Linked DNA regions of Homo sapiens: all the other regions are linked to region 5. The links are contacts of gene promoters, found by promoter capture Hi-C in human tissues and cell types (Jung and others, 2019). All regions are on one chromosome and are shown on one strand. The core of a region is centred on a gene start or on the middle of the fragment in contact, and the rest is flanking DNA. Distances in the headings are between cores, read along the strand shown.

Evidence for each region. The method cuts DNA at HindIII sites, captures the fragments that hold promoters and counts their contacts. A contact is called where the count stands out against the background at its distance.
Region 1: a fragment that was not itself captured here is called in contact with the fragment with the promoter of ATXN10 in region 5 in 1 of the 25 tissues and cell types used here (hippocampus).
Region 2: a contact is called between a fragment that was not itself captured here and the fragment with the promoter of ATXN10 in region 5, in 4 of the 25 tissues and cell types used here (IMR-90 fibroblasts, dorsolateral prefrontal cortex, lymphoblastoid cells and 1 more).
Region 3: a contact is called between a fragment that was not itself captured here and the fragment with the promoter of ATXN10 in region 5, in 1 of the 25 tissues and cell types used here (lymphoblastoid cells).
Region 4: a contact is called between a fragment that was not itself captured here and the fragment with the promoter of ATXN10 in region 5, in 1 of the 25 tissues and cell types used here (bladder).
Region 6: a contact is called between the fragment with the promoter of FAM118A here and the fragment with the promoter of ATXN10 in region 5, in 1 of the 25 tissues and cell types used here (heart right ventricle).
Region 7: a contact is called between a fragment that was not itself captured here and the fragment with the promoter of ATXN10 in region 5, in 1 of the 25 tissues and cell types used here (aorta).

Annotation. Positions count from the first base shown.
Region 1 is chr22:45,168,320-45,172,040 of GRCh38, forward strand. It overlaps NUP50 (nucleoporin 50), which reads left to right. Exons shown (of 8, transcript NM_007172.4): 3 at 3,281-3,364. Among named protein-coding and RNA genes, the nearest start is that of NUP50, 6.3 kb to the left of the region's middle. The HindIII fragment of the contact is 3,699 bases long and covers 494-3,721 here.
Region 2 is chr22:45,989,652-45,993,426 of GRCh38, forward strand. No RefSeq gene overlaps it. Among named protein-coding and RNA genes, the nearest start is that of WNT7B, 14 kb to the left of the region's middle. RefSeq lists an enhancer at 2,912-3,411. The HindIII fragment of the contact is 8,090 bases long and covers 1-3,775 here.
Region 3 is chr22:46,010,977-46,014,603 of GRCh38, forward strand. It overlaps LOC124905134 (a long non-coding RNA gene), which reads left to right and starts at 2,605. Exons shown (of 2, transcript XR_007068136.1): 1 at 2,605-2,834; 2 at 3,521-3,627. RefSeq lists silencers at 2,707-2,896, 3,047-3,136. The HindIII fragment of the contact is 5,321 bases long and covers 1-3,627 here.
Region 4 is chr22:46,144,709-46,148,575 of GRCh38, forward strand. No RefSeq gene overlaps it. Among named protein-coding and RNA genes, the nearest start is that of PPARA, 3.9 kb to the right of the region's middle. The HindIII fragment of the contact is 4,597 bases long and covers 1-3,782 here.
Region 5 is chr22:45,670,507-45,673,938 of GRCh38, forward strand. ATXN10 (ataxin 10) reads left to right here and starts at 1,328. Exons shown (of 12, transcript NM_013236.4): 1 at 1,328-1,673. The coding sequence starts at 1,558. RefSeq lists silencers at 1,001-1,190, 1,251-1,300, 1,631-1,960. The HindIII fragment of the contact is 16,564 bases long and covers 1-3,432 here.
Region 6 is chr22:45,308,666-45,312,391 of GRCh38, forward strand. It overlaps FAM118A (family with sequence similarity 118 member A), which reads left to right and starts at 1,269. Exons shown (of 9, transcript NM_017911.4): 1 at 1,269-1,518. RefSeq lists a silencer at 935-1,614 and an enhancer at 2,331-3,139. The HindIII fragment of the contact is 15,582 bases long and covers 1-3,726 here.
Region 7 is chr22:45,267,091-45,270,671 of GRCh38, forward strand. No RefSeq gene overlaps it. Among named protein-coding and RNA genes, the nearest start is that of UPK3A, 16 kb to the right of the region's middle. RefSeq lists a silencer at 1,984-2,213 and an enhancer at 2,404-3,055. The HindIII fragment of the contact is 5,158 bases long and covers 1-3,581 here.

The DNA.
Region 1 (3,721 bases), core at 1,093-3,592, 500 kb before region 5:
AGACTTGTGACAGAACTAAAAGACCTTTCTAAGAACATCATGAATGGGAGATGACAAGAAATTATATGACCTGTACTTAGTGTAGATATTTATTAATTACATTTCTGTGACCTCTAGTTAGTGTAGAAATGTATTAATTACATTTAGATGTGCTTTTCCACTAGTGCCTGCTCCTTAAATATTCTCCTTAGTAGAAGCACTTTTCCTCCTGAGTTTCGTATACTTGAAGCATTCTGAACCCATGTTTGCAGTAAGCCATTTTAGTCATGACTGAAGGCTGAGTTAAGTGATGTAGTCATGAACTTAGCACACTGCCCAGATGTGAAAGTGGTACACCATCACCATCTTGGTCTGTGGTACTCCGTTTCCCTAATGCTTCTTGGAGGCCTGCTTTATTTCCTTTTCTTAATGGTAGACCTGAGACCCCTAACAATTGCATTTATAGGAATAGAATTGAGATTGGCCTAGTTCCTTTTCCAGCAGAATAAAAATGGTCTCCCCTGAGGAAATCTGATCATTTTTCCCTTATAAACAGTAGGACTGGGCAGCATAGAGAGATCCCGGTCTCTATAAAAAAAATTTTTTTTTTTTTTTTTTTTTGAGACAGAGTCTCACCCTGTTGCCCAGGCTGGAGTGCGGTGGCACAACCTCGGCTCACTGCAACTTTTATCTCCCGGGTTCAAGTGATTCTCCTGCCTCAGCCTCCCGAGTAGCTGGGATTACAGGTGTACACCACCACACCCAGCTAATTTTTGTATTTTTAGTAGAGACAGGGATTCACCATGTTGGTCAGACTGGTCTCAAACTCCTGACCTCAAGTGATCCACCCGCCTTGGCCTCCCAAAGTGCTGGGATTACAGGCGAGAACCACCGCACCCAACCCCCCAAAAAATTGTTTTAATTAGCTGAACATGGTGGCATGAGCCTATAGTCACAGCAATTTGGGAAGCTGAGGCGGGAGGTTTGCTTGAGCCCAGGAGTTCAAGGCTGCTGTGACCTGTGATTGCACCACTGCACTCCAGCCTGGGCAACAGGGTGAGACCCTGTCTAAAAAACAAAGAATAAAACACAGCTGTACTTATAGGATGTGGGCGAAGGATTACCCAGGTGCCGAGGCAAGAGACTGAAGGCACAAACTGTTTCAGTATAATACATAAAATAGTTAGAATAAGAATAGTCATAATACAAATTAGATACAGAGATGATCACGGGCATTATCAATCATTAGTATAAACATTACTAGTCATTAGCTTTTAATATTACTCTTTGTTGTACTACTAATATAACCAAGGAATAACCGGCAGATACAGGGTCAGGTGCTGAAGGGACATTGTGAGAAGTGACCTAGAAGGCAAGAGGTGAGCCAGCCCTCTGTCACGCCCGCATAAGGGCCGCTTGAGGGCTCCTTGGTCAAGTGGTAACGCCAGTGCCTGGGAAGGCACCTGTTACTTAGTAGACCGTGAAAGGGAGTCTCCTTTACTTGGAGGAGTCAGGGAACACTCTGCTCCACCACCTTCTTGTGGGAGATTGGATATTGTCCAGGCTTGCCAGTAGTCATCCAGAGGCTTGAACCCCTCCCTGTGGTGCTGTGCTTCAGTGGTCACACTCCTTGTCCACATTCATGCTCCTCCCGTAGTCCTGGTTCCTCTTTGAAGTTCTTAGTAGATAGCAGTAGAAGAAATAGTGAAAGTTTTAAAGTCTTTGATCTTTCTGATAAGTGCATAGAAGAAAATGCTGACGTACGCCGCCTTCCTTCTCTGCTTCAGCTACCTAAAAGGGAAGGGCCCCTGTCCCATGATCACGTGACTTGCTTGACCTTGTCAATCCCCTGGACGACTCATCCTCCTCACCCTGCTCCCTTGTCTTGTATGCAATAAATATCAGCACGCCCAGCCATTCAGGGCCACTGCCGGTCTCCGTGTCTTGGTGGTAGTAGTCCCCCAGGCCCAGCTGTTTTCTCTTTATCTCTTTGTCTTGTGTCTTTATTTCTTACAATCTCTGTTTCCCCCTTCGAGGAGAACACCCGCAAAGCCCAGTAGGGCTGGACTCTACAGTCGTACCTTATCAGCAGTGTGTTACCCCCAGGCCAGATGACTAAGGAAATCTGTAACCACGACTTTCAGGTTAACAGCATAGTGCTAAGTGAAAAAAGAAAAATGTTAAAACTGCAACTGTTTCCAAGCTTATTCTTAGACGGCCATCTTCCTTCTTTTGGAATCTTTCTGGTACTAGTACTTTTTTTCTCTACAAGTGTATCTCCTCACATATGTTTAGGGAAACCAGAATCCCAAGGATGTGAGTGTTTTGACAGGGTCAAAACTGATTTGGTGCTTTTTAACTAAAATCTTTGGTTATGGGGGTTTTTGGTTTTTTGTTGTTGTTGGTTTAAGATCTTAAGCACAGTTACATTCTGGGCTATAGTAACATCTAGATTACCATGTAACTATTTGCTTAGACATTAAAATATTCAGGAATGAAAGAACTCCCATTCGAACATATGCCAATGAAATGTGTGGAAAGATTACATTTAGTTAAGTACATTTAACTTGGGGCAAGTGCAGCCAGATGGTCCCCTCTATGAGTGTAGGAGCCCGTTAAGTTTAATATGATCTGAAACAACTATAGGTGAGAATTTTTGCATGAGAAATATTTTATTCCGACCCTACAGGGTAAAAGAAGGGCTATAAACTAAAGCCGAAGATATTCAGCAGCTTTCTGACGTGGACATCAGAAGTGTGGACATGAGTGTGCTTTGAGCGCACTGTGGAAGAGCAGTGGTTGTCCAGCAAGGTCCTAGGTGCCTCCGTGGCCTTTCGTACAGTGGGCAAGTTGGGCAGGACTCATCTTAAAAATCATGTGTATGTTATAAATAACAAAATTTATTTATTTATTTTTTTGAGACAGTCTTGCTCTGTTGCCCAGGCTGGAGTGCAGTGGTGCTATCTCGGCTCACTGCAACCTCCACCTCCCGGAGGGTTCAAGTGATTCTCCTGCCTCAGCCTCCCAGGTGGCTGGGATTACAGGTGCCCACCACCATGCCCAGCTAATTTTTCATTTTTAGTAGCGACAGAGTTTCACCATGTTGGCCAGACTGGTCTCAAACTCCTGACCTTTGGCCTCCCAAAGCGCTAGTATTATAGGCGCAAGCCATTGTGCCTGGCCAAAATTTATTTTTGAGAGGCCGGACACAGTGGCTCAGTTCTAGCTTGTTGTTGTTGTTGAGGATTTTGTCATCTGTTTGGCTTTATCTTACTGCTGCTTAATTTGTATTGTATTGCAGGTGGGAACATTCTCCATGGCCAGTGAGGAAGTCTTGAAGAATAGAGCCATAAAGAAAGCAAAGCGCAGAAATGTTGGATTTGAAGTGAGTGCCCCCTTACAGCTCTTGCTATTAAATACTCATTTGATTTCTGGGTTGCACAGCAATCCCTCCGCTGGGAGCAATGATATCAACAAATGCTTTCTTAAAATACTTATTCTTTGATGTAGGTCATGGGAGATAGAAAAAAATAAGAAACGTCAGGTCTGGACCTTAAAGAGAGCTTATCCAGTTGAGGAAATAAGATAAATATAGACAAATTCAAGTTGAGTGACAATCTGGAGAAGAAAAATGAGCAAAGCAATACAGAGGTGGGCGAAGTGGCATCAGATTGGAGGAAGAAAGGAAAACGCAAGGATCTTCTGAGAGTCTTGTCTGCTCCCTGCGATTGAGGCCTTGGTA
Region 2 (3,775 bases), core at 1,192-3,691, 320 kb after region 5:
TTTAGTCTTGGGCACCAAGAGTCACAGCCCCAGGGCTGACCACTGATGGCATCGACGCCTGGAAACTGGCCTGCTTCCCCCACACCACACAGGACCCATGAACGACCAAGAACCACTGATCTGGTCTGAACCTCTTGCTTTAAGGGTGGGAAGGCCGAGACCCAGGGAGGCTGCCAGGGTCACACAGTCATCAAGCAGGGGTTTGAGCCCCAGCATGCTAGCCCCAGGAGCCAGGAACTCTGGTGCTGACAGTGGGGTTCCCCAGGGCTGTTTCGCCATCTCCTACTGGGTGACTACAGCTGGCAGATCTGGCATCAGACCCACGGCCTGGGGTCCCTGGCTGGACCATACAATCTTCCTTCCCTGCAGGGGCCGCCTAGGGAGGTTGGCACACAGACCTGGACTCCTTAGCCCCTCTCCACAGGGGTCCCCATTTCAGCCTGAGAATGCACACAGGCCATCAGGAGGCAGTGGCCAGGGCGTGAGGGTGGGCTCCAACCCAGGCCCAGAAAATGCCTTCATAGCTGTAAGGCTATACAGCTGCGGAAGACTTCGGGCAACAGCTCAGACTGAGTCCAATTCGAACCCGGGCCTTCCGTGTACACGCCGTGGGATTCGGGCAAATCATTCCTCTCCAGGACACCTCAACCAAAGGTGTGAATGTCCACATCACCGGGAGGTTTAAGGAGGTAACACCATCTACCCAGCAGGGTGCTGGGGGGCCTCCTCGGGAGCTGTCACAGCTGATCCTGGGTCCACAGTGAACAGAAAGTGGGTGTTGGGGGCAGAGTCTGGAGACGGGGACAGTGGACCACCAGGCTCTGTGACCCCGAGCCTCAGCTTCCCCATCTGTGAAAGGACACCCAGCACCTTGATCTGTGGGCGCATGAAGCCCTAAGTGAGGGCCTGGCACACGCTAAGTGTTCAGCTCAACCAGCGAGTCACACTAACTGCGGAGACCAGGGCATTGCCAGGATTACTGGAGTTTGAAGGCCACATTTGCAGTGATCCCACCTGGGCTGGGGCTGATTGCTCTTCAGAGTTGCTGTGCCCAAAGGAGGGAGCAGATGGCACGTCAGGGAGGCAGCCCAGCCGTCACCCCCTTCAGGTGGGCAGCCAGGGTCCCTAGGGAGGCGCTAGGTGGAGGGCATAGGTGAGACACCCCATGGAAGCAGGCAGTAAGAAAGTCCAGGCCAAGGCCAGGGACAGGGCCTAACCTCTGAGACAGTGGGTCCTGCCCATGTACCCTATTTCCTGGCTGCCTGAGACCACAAAGAGCTGCAGCTCCCGAACACTCCCCACTTCTAATGCACTCTTAGCTGTACCCTGAGTGCAGCATCCTGGGCCACCTCTCAGCGCTTGAGGTGCCTTTGCCCTCCCTGCCTGGTGGGAAATGGGTACATACAAGTCCCTGGCAAAAGGAGGGGCTGGGGCTTTTATAACACTCTTTTCAGGAACTGGAGCCAACATACAAAGATTTTGAGGGGTGGGAATCATGACACATATCAACATGCCTCAAATATACACATCAAGCTAATTTCCTCACCAGTTAAAGTGGCTGAAATGTGGTCTTCTCATTGAGCCAGGCCAGGAGGAAACTGATCCGGATCCCAGGAGATTAAAACACGTGCAAGTCAAACGGAAAGCTCAGAGAGTGCTGGCTGGGTCCTGAATTGAATTATGTTGCCTACAGCTGGTGCTGTAGTCGTAGGGCACTGCGGACCACTGAGTTATTAAAACAGATATATTACTGCACAGGATCCATCCAGCAGGGCTGTTTCTGGTGGTGGAAACTTTTTTTTTCTTTAGACTGAGTCTCACTCTGTCGCGTAGGCTGGAGTGCAGTGGCGTGATCTCAGCTCACGGCAACCTCCGCCTCCCAGGTTCAACCAATTCTCATGCCTCAGCCTCTCCACTAGCTGGGATTACAGGTGCACGCCATCACACCTGGCTAATTTTTGTATTTTTAGTAGAGACGGGGTTTCACCATGTTAGCCAGGCTGGTCTCAAACTCCTAACCTCAGGTGATCCACCCACCTTGGCCTCCCAAAGTGCTGGGATTACAGGCGTGAGCCACCACGCCCGGTCTTTCTCTGGGCTTTTAAAAGTTCCACCAGGGCCAGGAGCAGTGGCTCACACTCCTCCTAAAGTACTCCCAGTACTTTAGGAGGCTGAGGCATGTGGTTCACCTGAGGTCAGGAGTTTGAGACCAGTCTGGCCAACATGGTGAAACCCCATCTCTACTAAAAATACAAAAATTAGCTGGGCGTGGTGGCTCGCACCTGTAATCCCAGCTAGTGGGGAGGCTGAGGCAGGAGAATGGCTTGAATCCGGGAGGCAGAGGTCGCCATGAGCCGAGATCATGCCACTGCACTCCAGCATGGGTGACAGAGTGAGACTCTGTCTCTAAAAAATAAGATAAAATAAAAGCCCAGAGAAAGAGCTGCAGACTTTATGAGACGCTAAGATTTCCTTCACTCCCACCAGGACCTGTGGCACAGGCCAGGCAGGCATGGAAAAGGCCAGATGAGGGACAGGCAGAGGGGCCCACAGTTATATCCCGGCGGGGAGAGCATGGGCAAGCTTCTAGCCTGTCGAGGCAGAATCTTCGCCCATTTGGGCCAGGGGCTCATTCACCAGGACTGGTGGCAGAAGGAGACGGAGGGGTGGCATCAACTATGTTCGATGGGCAGGCCATGCTGGCCGGGTCCCAGGGCCTTGGGGAGAAATCAGCCTTCAAAGGAAAATGCCACAGAAACTAACAAGAGCCCAGTGCCATGAGAGCCCCAGGGAGACAGGCAGCGGGCAGGGGTGTTCGGGGAAGGCTTCCTGGAGGAAGACAGCCATTGCTGAGCCCTGAAGGGTGAGCCAGGCAGACAGTCCAAGAAACCGTCTTCCTGGCTGAGGGACGGCACGGAGATGAGCAGGAGCAAAGCCTGCTGAGCCACGCATGGGGCCACACAGCCATCGGCTTCAAACCGGCATTGGGTGAGTGGCCTTCTCCCAGAAGTTTCAGTCTTTTGCTCTAAAATGGGGTGATAGGGCCTGCCCTGTCCCCATAGGGCCCCTGCAGGCACTTCCCTGGGGCTCCCAGGAGCATAGCCCCTGCACCCACCCTCATCAAACCGACCTGCACTGAGCTCCAGCCCTGGTTTCCACTACCCTTTGTCCCTATTGATCCCTCATGCTCTCTTTGGGGCACATTGCCTAGATCACCCTCCTCCAAACTTCTCACCAGGAAACTCCTCTTCAGCCTACTGAGGTGGCTGGCACCTCCTCCAGGGAGCCCTCCTGGTTGTTCAAGGTAACCTTAGATGCTCCCTTCCCTTGCCTCCACACACCTTCTGCCTTCCCATCTCAGCCTGGACCCACTGCACAGTGTCTGTCTCTGTCTCTTCAGGAGCAGCTTCTGGGAAGGTCTTGGGCCAGTGCTGTTGCACTCTACCTTCCCCTAACACCTCGAGTGCAGAGCGGTGCCTGAGGTACTTGTGGGAGACACACAAACATGGCCGCGGCTACCATGGGCTACCCAGTGATGACCATTGAGAGGGCTTCTTTGGCAAATGTTGTTGTTCTTGTTAGCGATGATGATGGTGGTGGTGGTAGTGAAGGTGATGGTGGAGGTGATGGTAATGATGGTGGTGATGGTAATGATGGTGGTGATGGTGACGATGGTGGTGGTGGTGGAGGTGATGGTGGAGGTGATGGTAATGATGGTGGTGATGGAATGATGGTGGTGGTGGAGGTGATGGAATGATGGTGGTGATGGTGATGC
Region 3 (3,627 bases), core at 1,003-3,502, 340 kb after region 5:
GGCCCCTCCCCAGGAGAGTGGCTGGGGGAAGGAGTGCCGGGGGGCAGAGGAAGGAGCCCTCAGTCCCCATGGTCCACAGAGCTTGCGTCTGGTGAGTGCTGAGAGCAGGTGGAGGGACTCCAGAGCTCCAGAAACCCCTTGGCTCTCTCTGTGCTGGGCCCAGCTGAAGTCCCAGGGTGGGCGGGGGCAAGACAGTGAGTCCTGCTCTGCCCAGGGCCCAGCTGGGATAGGGCCAGCGCACCAGGAGGTCCACAGAGGCAGAGAAAGCAACCGAGCGGGAGCGGAGCTGGGGCAGGACAGGTGGTCTGTGCTGTTTCCATGGCTCCGGTGCCTCTGCCTGCCTCACTGGCCTGGGAAAAACAAGCCGGGCACTGAGCAAACAGCGCCTGTGACCGCCCCGGACAAAGGCTGGGCTGTTTAGGCAACCGGACGGCCAAATGGGCCTCCCTGGCGGAACACCGGTTTAGACTGGGCCCGTCGGGGCTGAGTTGCCAGGCCCCACAGCCTGTCCCTTGGGTCTCTGGGGAACAAGCTGGGGCTGGCGGTGGGGACAGGGAGTGGAGGGGAGAGGCTGGGAGGGCCGGGGCAGGCACTACCCCAGTTCTGCCCTCTGGCACCCAGTTCCCTTGCCCAGCCATTCAGGAGAATGAAGACAGCAGGATCTCAGCGGATAAAGGAATAGGGTTTCTCTGTCCAGCCACAGTGACTGGGGCTCAGCAGCAACATATCCCGTGGGACTTCCACCCTCCCAAGGGGCACCCCCAAAGAGTGACCAGTCCTGGGCCCATGTGTGAAGGGTATTTTTGCTGCTACTGTGGACAGATGCTGTCTTCGGCCCCAAGCCAGGCAAACCCAGAATGCCAGAGTGCAGTGCGGGAGGCGGTCCTCCCCCAGGGAGGGATGGGGCTGGGGACAAAAGCCCTCCACAGGGGCAACTCAGAGGCCTGCCCTCCCGGCTCAGGCTCCCGAGACAGAGCCCAGGGCCAGGCGGTGGCTGACTCCACTAGCGGAGTGCCCTGGACTGGCCGAGGCCCTCCCTCCCGGGGCCACTCACATGAATCTTTGCTTCAGGGCCGGCTTCTGGGGAGACCCAGAGCACGACAGGAGCTCATAGACAGGCCTCTGCGGGTGCGTGGGTTACAATGGCGTCTGCGGTCCTGGAACTCAGAGGCAGAGGAGGCGGGACCCTGTCATCCCAATCACTGTGATTCAGCAGCATGGGAAGCCAAGGGGCACTGAGGCTAGAAGGACCCAGAGCTGAGGGACACTGGGCTGGCCTGCAGGGGAGAGGCTCTGATTTTAAGGAGAAAGGAGATAAGGATGGGGCCCAGGGCAAGGGGTGCCATCTACAGAGCAGCTCCCAGGCCTGCAGAAGCTCCCTGGTCTGTGTCACTGTGGGCTCCCTGGCAGTGGCATTCCCAGCACCCCTCCCGCTGCCACTTCCCCACTTGGGGCTGGACCACCGGCCTGCCTGCAGGGGAGCTTGTGGGGTCTCAGCCCAACAGCCTGGAGCCCAGGGGCAGGCAGCAGCATGCTCTGCTGACCCGGCAGCCACATGGGCCCCCGGAAGCTGCCTCCGAGGCAAGCTTGCACCAGCAGGATGTCAGGGCTGCCCTGGAGCCAACACTGGGGACCGAAGGGAAGGACACAGGCGTAGGCAGGGGCAGCAATTGGACCCTGTGCGTACCTGACCCTATGCGAGCTCTGCAGCTCAAAGGGACCAGAGCTGGCCTGAGTTGGGCAGAATGGGCTGGACCTTATGCTCTGGATCGATGGGGCTGACCCACGGAAGCCAGGACCTTCGGGCCAACCCTGAAGGGACCACGGCTGAGGACTGTGTGCCCTGGAGGGAGTTCTGAGATGGGGGGTGTAGGGGTGGGGAACCCACAGGCAGGCACTGCCTCAGGGCCTCCCTCCTGTCCCATGGCCCCCAGGTGTCCTGCGGCCCCACACTCAGCCTCCTTCTGGGGGTCTGGGTGGCTGCACCTTCCATGGTGCCAGCCAGGCCTTGTGCCCATCTCCACCCCCTTGCCCTCACCTGCCCCAACCCACCACGCCTTGGCGGCCTCCTCTCGGGGCTTCCTGGCCTCCACCAAGCTGCACCCACCTCCGCCCTCATCACCCAGGAGGCCTTCCCCGGCCTGGCCCGACGCAGGCTCCACAGTCTCTCACCAGCCTCCCAGCTGCTGGCAGTGAAATTCACAGGAGCTCCCTCTGGGGCAAGGGTGCCTCCGCCTCCTCCATGGCAGCGTCCCCAGCCCTGCACGGGGCCCCCAGTGAACACATGGGCTGAATAAATGAGTGAGGGCATGAGGGACGCCTGAACACACGAATGAGAGAATGGCACTGGGGGTCCGTGAACAGCTTGTTGCATTGAAGATGGTGAAGGATTTTCATCCTGGTCCAAGCATGGAGGCCTCTCTAGAAACCGTCCCTTCCAGCTCCATGAGGGGTGAACTCTGAGCTCAGAGGCCATGGGGCCAAGTGCAGAAAATGGCTTTGAACTCTGGAGGAAGGAAAGAAGCCACCCTCCAGGAAGGAGTAAGAACCGCTCTGGAACATTCCCAGGAAAGGTCGCTGGGGGGCAGACCTGAGAGGTTCCCCGGACTCGGCGGACCCAGATCCCCCGCAGGGCAGCCCCTGGTGAGTCAGGGCCTGAGTCAGCGCCCTCCGCCTTCCCAGAGGCCCCGCCAGGACCTGCAGCCCTGGGCGCCCCAGCAGCCCGGCCCTGCTCAGCGCAGCTCTGGGTTGGAACTTGCACTTTCCAGTAACTCGGACCTCCCCCCGGCCGCCTTCCCAGGCGCCACCGGGCCCAGCAGATCGTCACCGTCCAGGTGCAGGGTGGGGGTGTGTGAAAGTCAGGCCTGGGACCCGGGCAAGTTGCTGCCGTGCCCTCTGGCTTCCCGGGGGACATCCTTCACCTTTGTGCGCCCAAACCCTCTGTGCTGCGGTTCCAACCCCCCTCCACATTCCCGCCTGCTCCTCCGGGCCTGCCCGTTCCCTCTGCCTTCCTGGGAACCTCCCTCTATCTCCGCATCTTCCGCCGCTCCCTTCCCTGCGGCAGCCGGCGGGCTCCGACTCTCGCTCTTCAGGGAACACCGCCCTTGGCGCCACGCCCACCTCCACCCGCGGCCACCTTCCCTCCCTCCCACCGCCAGACCTTCAAGACAGGATCTACCCCGGGCGGCCCCCAGCACAGGTCTCAGCCCCCTCCAGACTGGGGTTGTCGCCACCCTCCACTGAAATGGCGGCAGCCAGCTCCCTCCTGCCGCAGCCGGTGGCAGCCAGCTCCAGGCCTGGCCGGCCCCGCCCACCCTGTGTCTCGAGTGGCACCCACGGCGCTGTCCCTGTCCCGCCTGTCTTCTCGTGACCTCATCCGGCTCCAGACTCTCACATGTTTACGCCTTCAGCCCTGCCCAGCCCTGGACCCCAAGTCCCCTCCAATATTTCTTTTTCCTTTCTTGTATTTTTATTTATTTATTTATTTATTTATTGAGACAGTTTCGCTCTTGTCGCCCAGGCTGGAGTGCAGTGGCGCGATCTCGGCTCACCGCAACCTCCGTCTCCCCGGTTCAAGCGATTCTCCTGCCTCAGCCTCCCAAGTAGCTGGGATTACAGGCGTGTGCC
Region 4 (3,867 bases), core at 234-2,733, 470 kb after region 5:
TTTCACCATATTGGTCAGGCTGGTCTTGAACTCCTGTCTCAGGTGATCCACTTGCCTCAGCCTCCCTAGGTGCTAGGATTACAGGCCCACCATGCCCAGCCCAAGGCTCTTTCTTTTCTTTTCTTTTCTTTTTTTTTGAGACAGAGTCTCACTCTGTCGCCCAGGCTAATCTCCAGTCACTGCAACCTCCGCCTCCTGGGTTCAAGCGATTCTCCTGCCTCAGCCCCCAGAGTAGGTGGGACTACAGGCACGTGCCACCATGCGCAGCTAATTTTTGTATTTTTAGTAGAGATGGGGTTTCACCATGTTGGCCAGGCTAGTCTCGAACTCCTGGCCTCAGATGGTCCACCTGCCTCGGCCTCCCAAAGTGCTGGGATTACAGGCATGAGCCACCACGCCTGGCCCCGAGGTATTTCTTTAAATCAGCTAGTTGAAGTTCTATAGGAAACTCTTCACAATGTCAGTTTTTTGTTTTTTTGTTTTGTTTTGTTTTGTTTTTTTCACTTTGCTGCAGACCCAGAAAACTTTGTCAAACATGACCTGTCCCTTCCAGGAGATGAGGGACCATGGCCCAATCCCACGTTTTAGTGAAACCCAAGCAGAGCAATGCAATAGGGCAGCCCCCCTTCCACTCAGCTGCACAGGCTCCGGTTCAGATTGCCTTTCCTGGCTGGCAGGATGCTTTGGTGAAAGGCAGATAATAGGGTGGGACAGGGGATCACGGGCGGGAGACACGTAGGCACTGGGGCTGGTGTCTGCGAGGCATGAGGCCTGCCTGTCGGCTGTCCTGAGTGGAGAGACAGGACCGGGCAGTGGGCCGCCATAAAGATGGTGCTGGATGCGACAAGAGCCGCATGGAACACAGGAGGTGGTGGCCACACAAGGCAGAGGGCAGCTTTGGCAGGGGGACGGTTGCCAAGCAGGCTTCCTGTAGGAGGCAACTCTTGACAGAGCCCTCAAGCTGGTGGTTACCATGTCCCAAATATGACCCACTCATCAGGCCCCACCCTGCACCACCCCCGTGCTCCCTCCTCAAACTCACACCAGGACCCATCCAGGAAGGCGTCCCTGCCCCATTTTAGAGATGAGGGGGCTCGGATAGCATCACCGGCTGGAGGTTGTAGTTTGAGGAAAAGGTACAGGAGGATTTGAATCCAATTCTGTTGAACTCCAAACCCCAGGCACCCACTCATTCCATGAGGGAAAGTTGGGGGACAGTGCCCACGTGGCACGGTGCTGTGCACGTAAGCTTGCCTGTCTTGTGTGTTTCCAGGCTGTCATGCCAGACCTCATCTCTGCACTTGCAGTCTTCCCTGGCCGCAGCAGTGCCACTCACTGCCAACCACTGGGTCAGATCATTGCAGAATCCAACTCCACACAGAGCAGATTGTCCTTTATGGACCAAATATGTCTATCTGGTTGGGCGCAGCGGCTCACGCCTGTAATCCCAGCACTTTAGGAGGTCAAGGCGAGCGGATCACCTGAGGTCAGGAGTTCGAAACCAGCCTGGTCAACATGGTGAAACCCTGTCTGTATGAAAAATACAAAAAATTAGCCGAGTATGGTGGTAGGTGCCTGTAATCCCAGCTACTCAGGAGGATGAGTCAGGAGAATCACTTGAACCTGGGAGATGGAGGTTGCAATGAGCCGAGATCTCACCACTGCACTCCAGCAAGGACATAAGTGCAGAGCAAGACTCCATCTCAAAAAGAGAAGAGAAGAGAAGAGAAGAGAAGAGAAGAGAAGAGAAGAGAAGAGAAGAGAAGAGAAGAGAAGAGAAGAGAAGGGAAGGGAAGAGAAGAGAAGAAAAAAGAAAAGAAAAGTAAAGAAAGAAAATCCGTCTATCTACACATCACACTTTGCAGTGAGACTCCCACGGCACCTAGCATGACACAGGGAGGGGTCCTGCAGCTTCCAGTCCATGTCCTGGACTGGATAAACAACATCCATGATCTAGCCCTGGAGCTGGATCCTGTGTGACGAGGTGGACACCTGTCCCTTTGGAGGGGCAAAGAAGGGAGGCAGTGCAGCTGCAGGTGGGCTGCCCTGTTCTTCTCAAGATCTACAGAGACAGACATCTGAGCCATGTCGAATGGGCCCTGCTGCAAAGCTGGGGACTGGTTAATTTTCAAAGGGTACAGTGTCATGACAGCAGCAGTTTCTGGACCTGCGGAAGCTTCCAGATCCTGCAAAGCTAGAATGGGTGCACAGCTTAAGCCCCTCCCCACCACCTCAGCTGTGACCACTGGTTAACATGTAGCATGCAGCACTTGGTGCTAATCAGATGGAGTCATGCCTCTGCTGACAACCCTCCATGGCAGGTGTCCCACAGCCCTTAGGACCAAAGTTAAACTCCTCACTGGGCTGCAAGACCTGCCTGGCCAGGGCCTTGCCCAGCTCTGCCCGCTTTGTGCCATCTCCACACTCTCTCCCCTTGAATGTCTCCTGCCACAGGCTTCTGCACATGCTGCTGCCACCCCCCTGGAGCTGTGGGGCCAGGAGCAGCCACCAGGGAAATCTGATCCTTGACCCTGGGCTCCTGAGTCTGCCAGAGGCTGCCGTATCAGCCAACAGACAGCTTCTGCAACAGACAACCGAACCCCGGGGGTACCCAGGGCCAGGTGCTGATGGACTGGGACTCGGGAGAGTTCTCACTCCCTGCCGGGGACCTTGGCCACATGCTGCCATTCCTGGCCCTTCGTTCCTCATCTGTAAGATGAGCATAAGCACAGCTGCCTTGTGGGACTCTTGTAGATTCTGTCCCCTAGTATGACAATACTTTGTTACCTTGGACCCATGGGGTTTTGCTGTCAGTACCAGGATGGCAACTAAGGACATGCCCATGGTTGGCCCTCACCGACGAGGTCCAGCCTTGGGTCGCCAAGCAGCCGCCTGCTCGCTGCCAGTGAGCCCTCCCTTTCTCAGCCCACGGCCCCTGCCCCGGTGGACTTCCACCACCTGACCTGCAGGCACGCTTCCAGGAGCTCAGAGGCCACTGCCCTGGCGGATGACACCCTGGAAGCACACACTCCCCCTTGACAGAGAGCTTTGCACATCAGCAGAGGGCAAGCCAGCAGCAAACTTCGCAGGCCCTGGCTGGCAAACAGACTCCAGCCTGGACCCCAGGCCCATAGGAGAAGCTTCACCCTGGCAGGGTCAGGGAAAGCACTGGGGTCCCTGAACACAGATGACCGTCATCACCTGCTCCCAGCACTCAGGGTCTAACTGCTGCCCTGTACTGAGCGGCCAAGCCCTATCACTCCAGGTTGCCTCCTCCAGCAACCCCTTCCCGTCTGAATTCCCAGCTTCCCAATTCTTTCCCTGAGGCTGTGGGAGAGCCTCGGCTTCTCTGGCTGGCTGGCAGGTCAGCACTTGCAGGAGAGAGCAGCTCAGCAGGGCAGACGTGGGCTTTACAGACCTGCCTTCCGTCCTGCGCCCTGCCGCTGGCCTGGGGGACCCAGTGCAGATGGGGCTTCTCTGTGCCTCAGTCTCCATCTTGCAATGTGGGCACAGTAATAATTACCCTCAGAACATCTTCCGGATCAGAAAATGTAAAAAGGGACCTGAGACAGCATTGTCACCACATAAATGGTAGCTATGAACTAAGATCCATATGCACCAGATGCTCCCAGTAGTCACTAAGGCGCCAGAGAGGAAACTCAGGTGGTGCTCAGAGACATTTTCAGGAGCACTGATTTGTCCTCAAAGTTACAGATTTCTACTCAGTCCCTGCGCCAGCGGTGTTTCTGTTCTGTCGTGTGGCCCTCATTTCATCAGCACTGAAGAAGGTAAAGAGAGACTTCCTGGAGCTGGGAATGGGGGTGAGGGTGTGCCCTTTGTGACAGTTGCTCCCATGCTGGGTGTGTG
Region 5 (3,432 bases), core at 78-2,577:
GTGTGATCACAGCTCACTGCAGCCTCGACCTCCTGGGCTCAAGTAATCCTCCTGCCTTGGCCACCCAAAGTGCTGGGATTACAGGCATGAGCCACCATGCCCCACCAGGATTCACTTTTTCTGCATACTCTGGTGGTGTTTATTGTTATCTTTACATTTTATTTAGCAAAGAATGTTAAAAGCGCCATGTTATAAGCACACTCCTACCCTCCAAGCAGAATGTAAAGGGTATGTATTTATATATTTTAAGTGGTCCCACAGCAATTTGTACAGTTATAGCAGTTCACAACTATACTCAGTTATGTTTGCTTCTCTCCTTCTCAATAGTCTGTGAGGTTCCTTCAGGTTTGGAACTGTCTTTTATTAATCTTTACATCTCCAGCACCTAGCGCAGGGCTTAGCAACAATTTTTGTTGAAAGTATATACACTGTAATAAAGGGCAGTGGAAAGAAAATATGTGAGTTATCAACACCAGCTAGAGAAGCCTTGTCTGATTCCTGTGAAATATATTCATTTCCCTTAGGAAAAAAAACAATTCTAACCCTATTGCTGTGTAACTTAGCTTCTTGACTTCGAACGGTATTTTAAGGCTTTGAGGAGCTGGAGCAATGTATACTCACTAGAGGCAAAGTGCCTGGTAAGTGGTCTGGTATTGATCAGCAATGATCAGTAAGTACTGGGAAGTGCGTTTTCAGGGCCTGAGACTTGCAAGCTAGTGACAGACCGCTCCAGCTTCCAGTGGACCCGGGCGGGGGCACTGATCAACCCACTTGAGCAGTGGGATCAAGGTCTTCAGCCTTAGCAGTGGGAGCCTCTGCCCGGCCCCCTTCGTTCCCGAGACCCTCAGTCAGCGTCTCCTCCCAAGAGGGTCCCCTCCACCCAGAATGTCCTCCCCTGGGGGAGACCACTCTGTCTGCGGGCCCCCTCCCACAGGAGGGCCCCTCTTCCTCAAGGTGAACCTCTGTCCCCGATACCCGCTCCCAAGACCGAGACCTTGTTACGGCCCCACCCTCCACAGGCCCCTTACCCCCCGGATCCCCTCCCCTGGGGGAGACCCCTCTGTCCGCGGGCACCCTCCTATAGGACGCGCCCCTCTTTCTCAGGGTGAACCTCTGGTTCCCGATACCCGCTCCCAAGACCGAGACCCTGTTACGGCCACATCAACACAGGTCCCCCTCCCCCCGGCGTCCCCTCCCCTCGGAGGAGCCCCGTCTGCGACGCTTCCCAGTCAATCACCCCCAGCATCCCTCCCCGCTCTCACCCAGAACTTCCGCCGCGCCCCCTCCCCTCAGGCGGGACTTCCGCCGGCGCCCCCTCCCCCGCGGCGCCGTCTCCTCCTCCCGCCTGAGGCGAGTCTGGGCTCAGCCTAGAGCTCTCCGGCGGCGGCGCAGCTTCAGGGCAGCGCGGGCTGCAGCGGCGGCGGCGGTTAGGGCTGTGTAGGGCGAGGCCTCCCCCTTCCTCCTCGCCATCCTACTCCTCCCTCCTCGTCATCCTCCCCCTTCGTCCTCCTCGCCTTCCTCCTCCTCGTCAGGCTCGACCCAGCTGTGAGCGGCAAGATGGCGGCGCCCAGGCCGCCGCCTGCCAGGCTGTCGGGCGTCATGGTGCCGGCGCCCATCCAAGACCTGGAGGCCCTGCGCGCGCTCACGGCGCTCTTCAAAGAGCAGCGGAACCGGTAACGGGTCCGGCCGGGGGGCTGCCCCGGGCAGGGGAGGGCGGCCGGGACTCCCGCGGCGGCCCCGGCCTGGACCCAGGCGCCGCCCCCGCCTCGCTGGAGACGCGGAGGGCGAGGCCTGCGCGGGCTGCCTGAGCGCCACCCAGGCCTCCCGACTCCCAGGCACCGCCTCGTGCTCGTGGGTCCCCGCGGGGCCTGGGGCGGGCGCCCCGCTCCCCCACCGCAGCCAGTCCGGGTGCGAAGCCGCGATCCCGGGAGCCCTTGCCGCGGCGTGCCGGTGATGTTGACCCAACACACGGTTAGGCCTCCCCTGTCATGTGCGAGGGCTGCGCCAGGCCCTGGCTGCAAGACCCACGCGGCCCCCAGAGTCATAAAGCGTGTGTTTTAGCGGGAGAGACCCGTGTTACGGACGCGGGAATTGGGCAGTTGCGGGGATGGCAGTCTCTAGGCATGGAGTGGGACTGGCACTCCTTTCTCCTCGGCGTTAGAGCCCAGGCTGCACCATCTGCCCTGGGGGCAGCGCTCTGTGCAGTGTGGAAGAGCACGGGCCTGGAGAGACCAGTCCAGTCCTGATGCCACTGAGGGGCAAGATAGCCAGGCAAAAAGAGAAGGTGCCCAGGAGTCGACAGTTGTGGATTTGGTTCCTGGCCTTGCAAGCTGCGTGTTACTGTGCAGTTTCTCCAGGCCTTAGAATTCTTGTCTAAAAATGGGACTATAATACACAGCTTAGTTGCTGGATTGTACAGAGGAATAAATGAAATAAAGTACGTGAAAATATAAAATGTGCGAAGCCCTCAGTCAATGCTTGTTTGATCTTGTTCTGTCCTCTGGGCCTCAGTTTTCTTGTCTATTTAATGGGAGTAAAGTTGAACAGTACCTCCCTGGTGATAGTGTCATAAGGAGTAAATGAGATATAATGCATATTAAATCCTTAGGACATACCTGTACATAGCACTAAATGTAGCTGATATTATCACTTAACACATTGATTGGTAGTTACCCATGTATCAGCTATTGTGCTAGGTGATGGGGTAGGAAAATGGAAAGTCCTTGCTCTCTCCTGTACTAGTATGTACAAGATAACACAGCTGTGGGGGTATGTATGTACAAAGCAGAGGGAACATTGAAGAAAGAAATACTGAGACTTGGGTCAGCCTAGGTGATCACTAGAGGACTTCCTCTCTTTAAACTAGACACCTGGTCTGAGCACTTCCTTTACCTCACATCACTTTGGGAAATGTGGAGCTGCTGAAGGAATGCTATTAATAAAAGTCCCTGGTACTGCTCTATGGGCCTTTGGGGGAGATGTATTTATTGATTTAATGCTTAGGCATTTCTGTATCATGATGGACCCTCCTTTTAGTTAATAACCCAGTCATCAACCATTTATTGAGCACCTACTATGAAACAGATTTTTTTGTTGGGGTCTGAGGGTACAGAGAGGAATGATGTGAGTGATCCCTTTTATCAGGCATATTTGGGAAATAGCTAAATAAACACATTGTAATGGAAATCTATACAAGAGGTGGTGGCACAGGGGAGCATGTGGATATGTTGGAAGATTGGCGAGCCAGGAGAGGCTTTTTAAGGTTATTTCAGGTGCTCGGTTATAGATGAGAGGACTAGAGGGAACAGTGTCTGCAAAGGGGCCATATGTTAATTTTGCAAAACCGATGAGACAATTAAGTAACATAGATAAGGTTTCTCGTACAGAAGAGACATTTAGTCAGACATCAGTTCCCTTTTTATAACTTGGAGA
Region 6 (3,726 bases), core at 19-2,518, 360 kb before region 5:
GAACGCATGCAAAGTGCTCAGGGAGTGCCTGACCCCACATACAGAGCACCCAGGGGCTGCCCTCTTCATCCCAGAGTCACTGCTCCCACTGTTTTCTGGGCTCTGGCCCCCCCTAAAATTTCACAGGCCGCTAACACAACACTACCTTCTGTCACAAAATGAGAGCTTTCTGGTGGGCTAGGGTAGGGGGAGATATTAACAGCCAACTTTAAAATCAGGCAGGAAAAAAAGGTGCCAAGGAGACAGGAAGTAATAAATGACTCCAGGTTGGGCAGGGCAGGCTGGGAAGAGGAAGTGGATTGGGTCTTGTTTAGGTAAAAGACTTCAGTGGCAGACAAAGGAGGAGTAATAAGATCGCTAGGGGGCCCGTGCCCAGCCCACCCACGCACAATCTCAGTCCTCGCAATACCCACAAGGTAGGTGCTAGGATCACACCCTTTACGGACGCGGCACCTGCGACAGGGATGCGCGAGGAGTCAGGGGGCCTCGCCGGATCGAACCTAAGCTGGGGAAGAGTATTTCTTGTATTTTTAGGAGAAATTCTCAGCCTCGGGGAAGAGTATTTCTTGATGAGGGAAGAGCGCGGGGAAGACACTCACGCACGCACAAACATGTGGGCGGCCATGGTGTGCCCAGCGCCGTGCTGGCTTCTGGGAACCCCCAGTGGACAAGACGGACAAGGTACCGGCTCTCAGGGGAAGTGGGAGCCAGTCACAAGCGTACCTAATTTCGGAGAGTGACAAGTACTCTGAAAAAGAAAGAAGGTAGGGCTGGTGACTGGCCAATTTAAGCGGGCAGGAGTCTGCTGGGGGACGGAGACCAGCCTCAGGTCTGGGTTGGGGACAGAAGCTGTGCCTAAGTGTGGTGCAGGATGCAGTTGCAAAGGAGCGCTTCCGATCGCACTTGATGCTCGCCACGTCCCTGCAAAGTGCTCCCGCCCCCTTTCTGCAAATGAGGAAACGGGACGCGCGGCTCGCCGGGCCAGGTAGGGCTAGGACGCGGACTCTAGGCCCAAGCGCTCCCCAGCGCAAGCCCTCCCCCGCACATCCGACCGCGCCTGCGCTGGAGACCCCGGGGGCGTGGCCTCCCCGGTGGGCGGGACCGTGGTCACCGAGGTGGGCGGTGCCAGAGGATCTGGCGGCGGGGCGGGGCGGGGCGCGCGTCCTGGCTTCGCCCTTCCCCGGGGCGGGGCCTCCGGGGACCGCGGGGCCGTTGGTTTCGGGACGGAACGTTCACGCGGCTGGGGCGGGCGCGCGGGGGAAGGGTTTGCGGCGGCGCCGCTGCCGGCTAACGCGGAGGGGCGCCTGGAGGCGGCGTGGCGTCCGCTCTGGCTCCGACTCCGGCTCTCGCTCTCGCTTCTAGCCCGCGTGCCTGCGCAGTCCCCTCCCCGAGAACCATCCCCTTGCCCCGCCCAGCGTCAGGGGTGCGCGGCCGCCGAGAGACCCCGGAGGCGTAGCCGGCTGCGGAGGCGAAGAGGTGGCAGCGCGAGCTGGGACCAGCGTCTCGGAGGCGCCGCAGGTGAGGGGGCGGGGCGGGCCCGCGGTCCCTGCATCCGGAGCCCCTGGGGACCCCGAGATCCTCAGGATCCGCCCCGGCCCCGGGGCCACCCCAGGACTCCCTCTCAGCTCTTCCCCTGGAGCCCCTGCCCCCGAGACCCCCTCAGGATCCGCCCTGCCCCTCCAGGCCCGCGAACCCCGAAACTCCAAGATTTTCTCTGGACTCCGAGACCCCCTGAGGACCCCGGCCGCTAGTGGGCCCTGAGAACTGTTGGTTCCGGAAACTCTCGAGGTTCCCTTGGGACTTGCTTCCAGCAACCTCCTCAGAAGCCCCCAGGCCCGGGGCATCTTCCTGTGGGGAGCCGTGGTTCCCAGTGTCCTTAGCCCCGCGAGACCCCGGGTCCCCGTGCCGCCCACCCTGAGGCTCCCTCTCCGACCTGATCTCAGGGCTAGGTTTCTCCAACTTGAGGTCCCTGGACCTGCGGGGCGTGGGTGGAAGTGTTCCCAGGTCTGGTGATAACTTAAGACGGTAACAGCGCGCCCGACGACCACCTCCTAAGCTGTGGTCCCCGCGCCTGCAGGTGCAGGGCCGGGTTTAAGTTTTAATGTTCTGCTGAGACTCAGGTGGCCCCACAGGACAGTCTATAGAGCAGGAGACCTGAGGTGGCCGAGGGCGGCCGAACCGGGGAGGGAGCGAGTTAGGGCACATGGGGACGCTTTTAGGTTGTCTCCTCCTTAATTTTTTCATTCAAGGAACTAACATTTTGTTTTTGAATGCCTGATAGGCTCCAGGAATTGACACTGGAAATAGAGATGAGACGGTCCCTGCTGTCAGGGCCTAGGGACCTGGGGCATAAGACAAGTAGGTCGTTTTTATCTGGAGGAAGCTGTGTCGTCGCTGGCAGGGAACCCATCTGGGTGGGCATGGGATTCTGGGAAGGGGTGGGTGTTAAGGAGGGCGTCTTAGGAGTCGTGGGGAGGAGATGCTAAGCAGCAGGTGAGCTGATTCTTGAAGGTTGAGCTAGAGGAGAAGTTTGCCAGGGTCATTCCAGGCAGAGTTTCAGGGGACAGCCAGTATGTCAAAAGGCAGAGAGGCTGCCACGGCACACAGTGTTGGAAGGCGGGAGGTGTGGCTGGAGCACACCTAATGAAGGTGGCGTGGGAGTGAATGCTAACTGCGGAGAACCCAGCTTTGCTCCCGGAGGCCCACCGTGCCCTTGGCCCTTTCTTGAACGACTGCACCTGCCATTGTCCTGAGAAATGATCCAGCTGAGCTGAAGGAAGGTGGGAGGTGGTCAGGGGGAGAAGTGAGGGAAGTGTCTCGCTAGAGACCTGGTATGGGAGAAGCTGGGACTTTTGCAGAGTACTGGGTTTGAGGTGGGAGTGACAAGAAAGAGGGTGTGATTCTGAGAGCCAGTCAGGACCAAAGCATGCCCAGTTTAAGCTGAGTGGAGGGTTTGGTACTTAAAGGGAGTGGGTGGCCATTGAAGGGCTTTGGGAGGAGAGGGGCGGGAGTTGGTGTGTTTTTGAACCATCCATGTGGCTGTGGTGGGGAGACTTTTTTGGAGGAAGCAAGACCCTATGAGAGATGGGGGTGACCTGGACCAAGGCGGTGGTAGTGGGGGACTGTGGCTTTCTGGAACGGGGCTAAGCTTCTGAAAGCCCAGGCCCAGAAGACTGGTTCCCGCTCTTTCCTGTCTGAGCCTGGGGTCTGAACTTTAAGTGAGGTTTTTGTCCTATTACCGTAGGGTCTGTGGTCGCCTTAGTGCTTCATGGTGACTGTGTGTGTGTGCTTCACCATAGTCTAATGACCACACAGGACGCAGTGGGGCAGGGTGGGGAGAGGCTGAGTCTCAGAGGTGGGCCAGGACCATGCTGGGCTAGGGGTCCTGAAGAGAACCTGTGTGTGGAAAAACCACCCATCGTGCTTTTTCTATTATCTCACTCAACGACAATCAACAGAGATGTCTTCTGTGACCAAATGTGAGGAGAGGTTTCTCCCTGCCACCAAGCGGGCAGTCATTTGTGCAAGAGACACCAACTGGGTATCTTCCAATTCAGTTCTGATACTACCTGGAGATAGCATCAAATCTCGCAAGTTGAGGGCTCAGTCCCCCAAGACTGCCCTCCACCCCTTCGGACACCAGTCACAAGCCTGAGCCTCTGGAACTTCTGATCGATCAGCTTCAAGTTGGGGTTCCCATGACCCTTCCTTAGGTTTGATTAATTT
Region 7 (3,581 bases), core at 514-3,013, 400 kb before region 5:
GCATCTAAGAAAATGGATGAACCCCAAAATAGTTATGCTGAGTGAAAGAAGCCAGACCAAAAAAGAACACATGTTATGATTCCACTTACATGAAATTCTGAAAATCTCAGTCTCATCTATAGTGACAGAAGCAGACCAGTGGTTGCTTGGGGGTGGGATGGGGGTGGGGTGGAGGAGAGGGGAGGGGGGATGAAGAGGGAATGGATTACAAAGGGACAAGGACATACTTTTTCTTTTTCTTTTCTTTTCTTTTTTTTTTTTTTTGAGACGGAGTCTCACTCTGTCACACAGGCTGGAGTGCAGTGGTGCGATCTCGGCTCACTGCAACCTCTGCGTCCGGCGTTCAAGCGATTTTCCTGCCTCAGTCTCCGAAGTAGCTGGGATTACAGGCACCTGCCACCACACCAGCTAATTTTTGTATTTTTAGTAGAGACGGGTTTTCGCCATGTTTGGTCAGGCCGGTTTCAAACTCCTGACCTCAGGTGATCCATCTGCCTCAGCCTCCCAAAGTGCTGGGATTACAGGCGTGAGCCACCGGGCCCCGCCAGGGGCACACTTTTGGGAGTGACGGAAATGGTCATTATCTTACTGTGGTGATGGAGTCACAGAATATACATCTATATTCAAAACTCATCAAATTGTATACTTCAAATATGTGTGATTTATTTTATTTTATTATTTTATTTTGAGACAGGGTCTTGCTTTGCCACCCAGGCTGGAGTTCAGGGGCACTATCATAGCTCACTGTAGCCTTGAACTCCTGGGCTCAAGCAATCTTCCTGCCTCAGCCTCCCGAGTAGCTGGGATTACAGGCACGCGCCACCACACCCAGCTAATCTTTTATTTTTGTGGAGATGAGGTCTCACTATGTTGCCCAGGCTGGTCTTGAACTCCTGGGCTCAAATGATCCTCCCGCCCATGTCCACGCATGGTCCTTCCCTCTGCCGCACACAGAGGAAGGACCTGGGGCAAGAGGATCTGTGGGAGCTGAGTGGGGGAGCCTAGGAGAGAGGGGGTCCGAAAGAGGGGGTGGAAGGGAGAGGATGCATGCCCCGCCACTGCTGGGCTTCCTGTCCCCCTCTCCCTCCCCGCCAGCCTGCAGCCTTCCAACCGCTGCCCCTGCCCCTCCGCTCAGACCTTCCCCGAGCTCCAAAACCGTCCTGGGCTGCCAGGCCCCGCCCCGTCGCCCCCCATCCTCCACCCCCTGCCCCTTGCTGACCTCATCACCCAGCCCTCTCCCCTCCCTCCTCCTGACAGCCGCCGGTGAGGTTCCCTCTGCCTGGAAGATCTTCCCAGTCTCCCCAACCTCCCTCTGTCCCCTCCTCCAGGTCCCCGCACAGTCCCTTCTGGTGAGGCCACCGACGCAAGCCCCGCCTCCACCCGCTCACCCCTCACTCGCCCCCATCCCCGTCACCCGCCCCACTCCCCTCACCCGCTTCCCTCACCCCTCACCCTCCCCTATCTCCCTGGCCCGCCCCCACCCCCCTCACCTCTCACCCGCCCCCACCCCCGTCACTCCTCACCCGCCCCCATCCCCCTCGCCCGCCCCCATTCCTCCCGCCCCTCGCCCGCCCCATCTCCTGCCCTCGTCTCTCCCAGCACAGGAGAGCGCCGTGGGTTTGCTGACCGCGTCCCTGCTGAAAGGCGACTCCGGGAGCACAGGCTTCTGCCCTCTCCTGATGTCCCTAGCAGCGCCGGGCACGCAGCAGTGCTCGCTGGGTTTTTGTTGCACCTTTGAGAGGAAAAGGAGCTCGGTGTCCCCTGCAGCCCCTGGAAGTGAGGCGAAGAAGGCCAGGATGGAGTTGGGTGGGCACCCGCCTGTGGTCGTACCCGGATCGTGGAGGCCGCGGGCCCTGAACCCTAGACACTGGGCGGGACCCTCCCTCCATTATAAAAAAAAGTAATAAAGCAAAAGCATCTCGCGACTGCGCTGCCATAATGGCAAATGTGTCGAAATTATACGCGAAAACAATTGCTTCCCCCTGAGAGGGCATTCTTCTGATGCTAATAGAAATTGGGGGAGTCAGCCTTGCTGTGGGCGCGGCACCGCCCCCTCCCCGGCCGAACCGCCCGCGTTGCGCCGCCAGGGGGCGCCCGACACCAACGCGAGGCTCCACGCGCCAGCGGGGCGGGGCTGAGAGGAGGTGGGGGCGGAGCCTGGGTAGGCGGAGGCGGAGGCGGGGGCGGGGGCGGGGGCGGGGGCGGGGGCGGGGGCAGGCCCCGGGCGGCGAAGCCGCGCTCCACAGCCAGGACCCTGCTCTCCCGGCCCCGGCCCACCCTTGCGGTCCCGGCTGCACCCAAACCCGACCCCCTGCACTTCTCACCTCCCGGCGTAGTGCATACTGTTCCTTCCACCGGGAACACGCGGAATACCTTCCCCGTTCAAGATCTAGTCGAGGCACCACCGCCTCCAGCAAGCCTTCCCGAGCCTCAGGCTGAACCAGGCACCTCCCTTGGGCTCCTACAGGTCCCCTGGCCACACTGTCACTCTGTATTCTTCTCCTGGGACAGTGGACAGTGAGTCCCCCGGCCGGGATGGGGCTGGGTCACCCACGATCCTAGCACGTGGTGAGTGGGTTTCAGGTGAATAAATCTGGGAGCCGGGAGCCCCAGGCAGCTTACTCAGATGATCGATGGTGGAAGTCCTGTCCCTCCACCCACCTTTGCTTAGAGCCTGGGACCACAGACGCTCAGTAAGTAACTGGGCTCCCTGGCTCCTGCCCCAGCCTGTCAGCCCCCATCTATAACTTCTGAGGGCTGAATCTTCCTCCTGCAGAACCTCGGGCTCTGAAGGTGATCCTTAGTAGGCCAGCTTGCAGCCCAGCCTTTGCATCTAACACCCTCCCCGCTTTTCACAGTCTCTCCCTGTTCCCTTGTTCAGTTGGGGTGGGGGATCGTTTGTGAGACTTGTCTTCATATTGTGAGCAATAATAAAGTACTTAAAGATATTTGAAAACTATTTTCTTACGAATAATAGAGAAGATTCCAGTTATCCCTGTAGTAATCTCTCACTCATTTGCAACCTTGCAGACTTAGTGGTTTCAGAAAGTCTTGCAAATACTCAGCCTTTCATTCCCCGGGGTCCCGTGCTGGCATCAGGCTCACACATGCACCAGGTGACTGGTTCAGGCACAGAGGGAAGCGGACTGCCTGGGTTTAAATTCCAGCTCCACGCTCCATGGATGTGTGACCTTAGGTAAACTACTCAGCCTCTCTGTGCCTCAATTTCTTCATGTGTAAAGTGTGATGGTGATGTCAGAGCCACCCCTGGGATTCTCAGGACGATTCGGGAAACTGCCTGTGGTGCACTCAGGAGGGAGTGGACCACAGAGGAAGTGCTCAGTAGGGGTTAGTAGTGAGCAGTGCTATTAGGCCTTCAGGGTCACTGTCATGTGCTCAAGGAAGCGGGAGAGAAAGGAGCGAAGCTTGCCTGGCCCCAGGACAGCACTGCGTGAAGTCCCTGAGACCCTCTTTTCTCACACTCCTCTCATGTAACCCTGAGGTGGGGATGCACCTGTGTTTGTCCTCCCCCCCATCCTCCTGACCCGGAACTCCTGGAGGGAGGAGAGGGCTGAATTGTT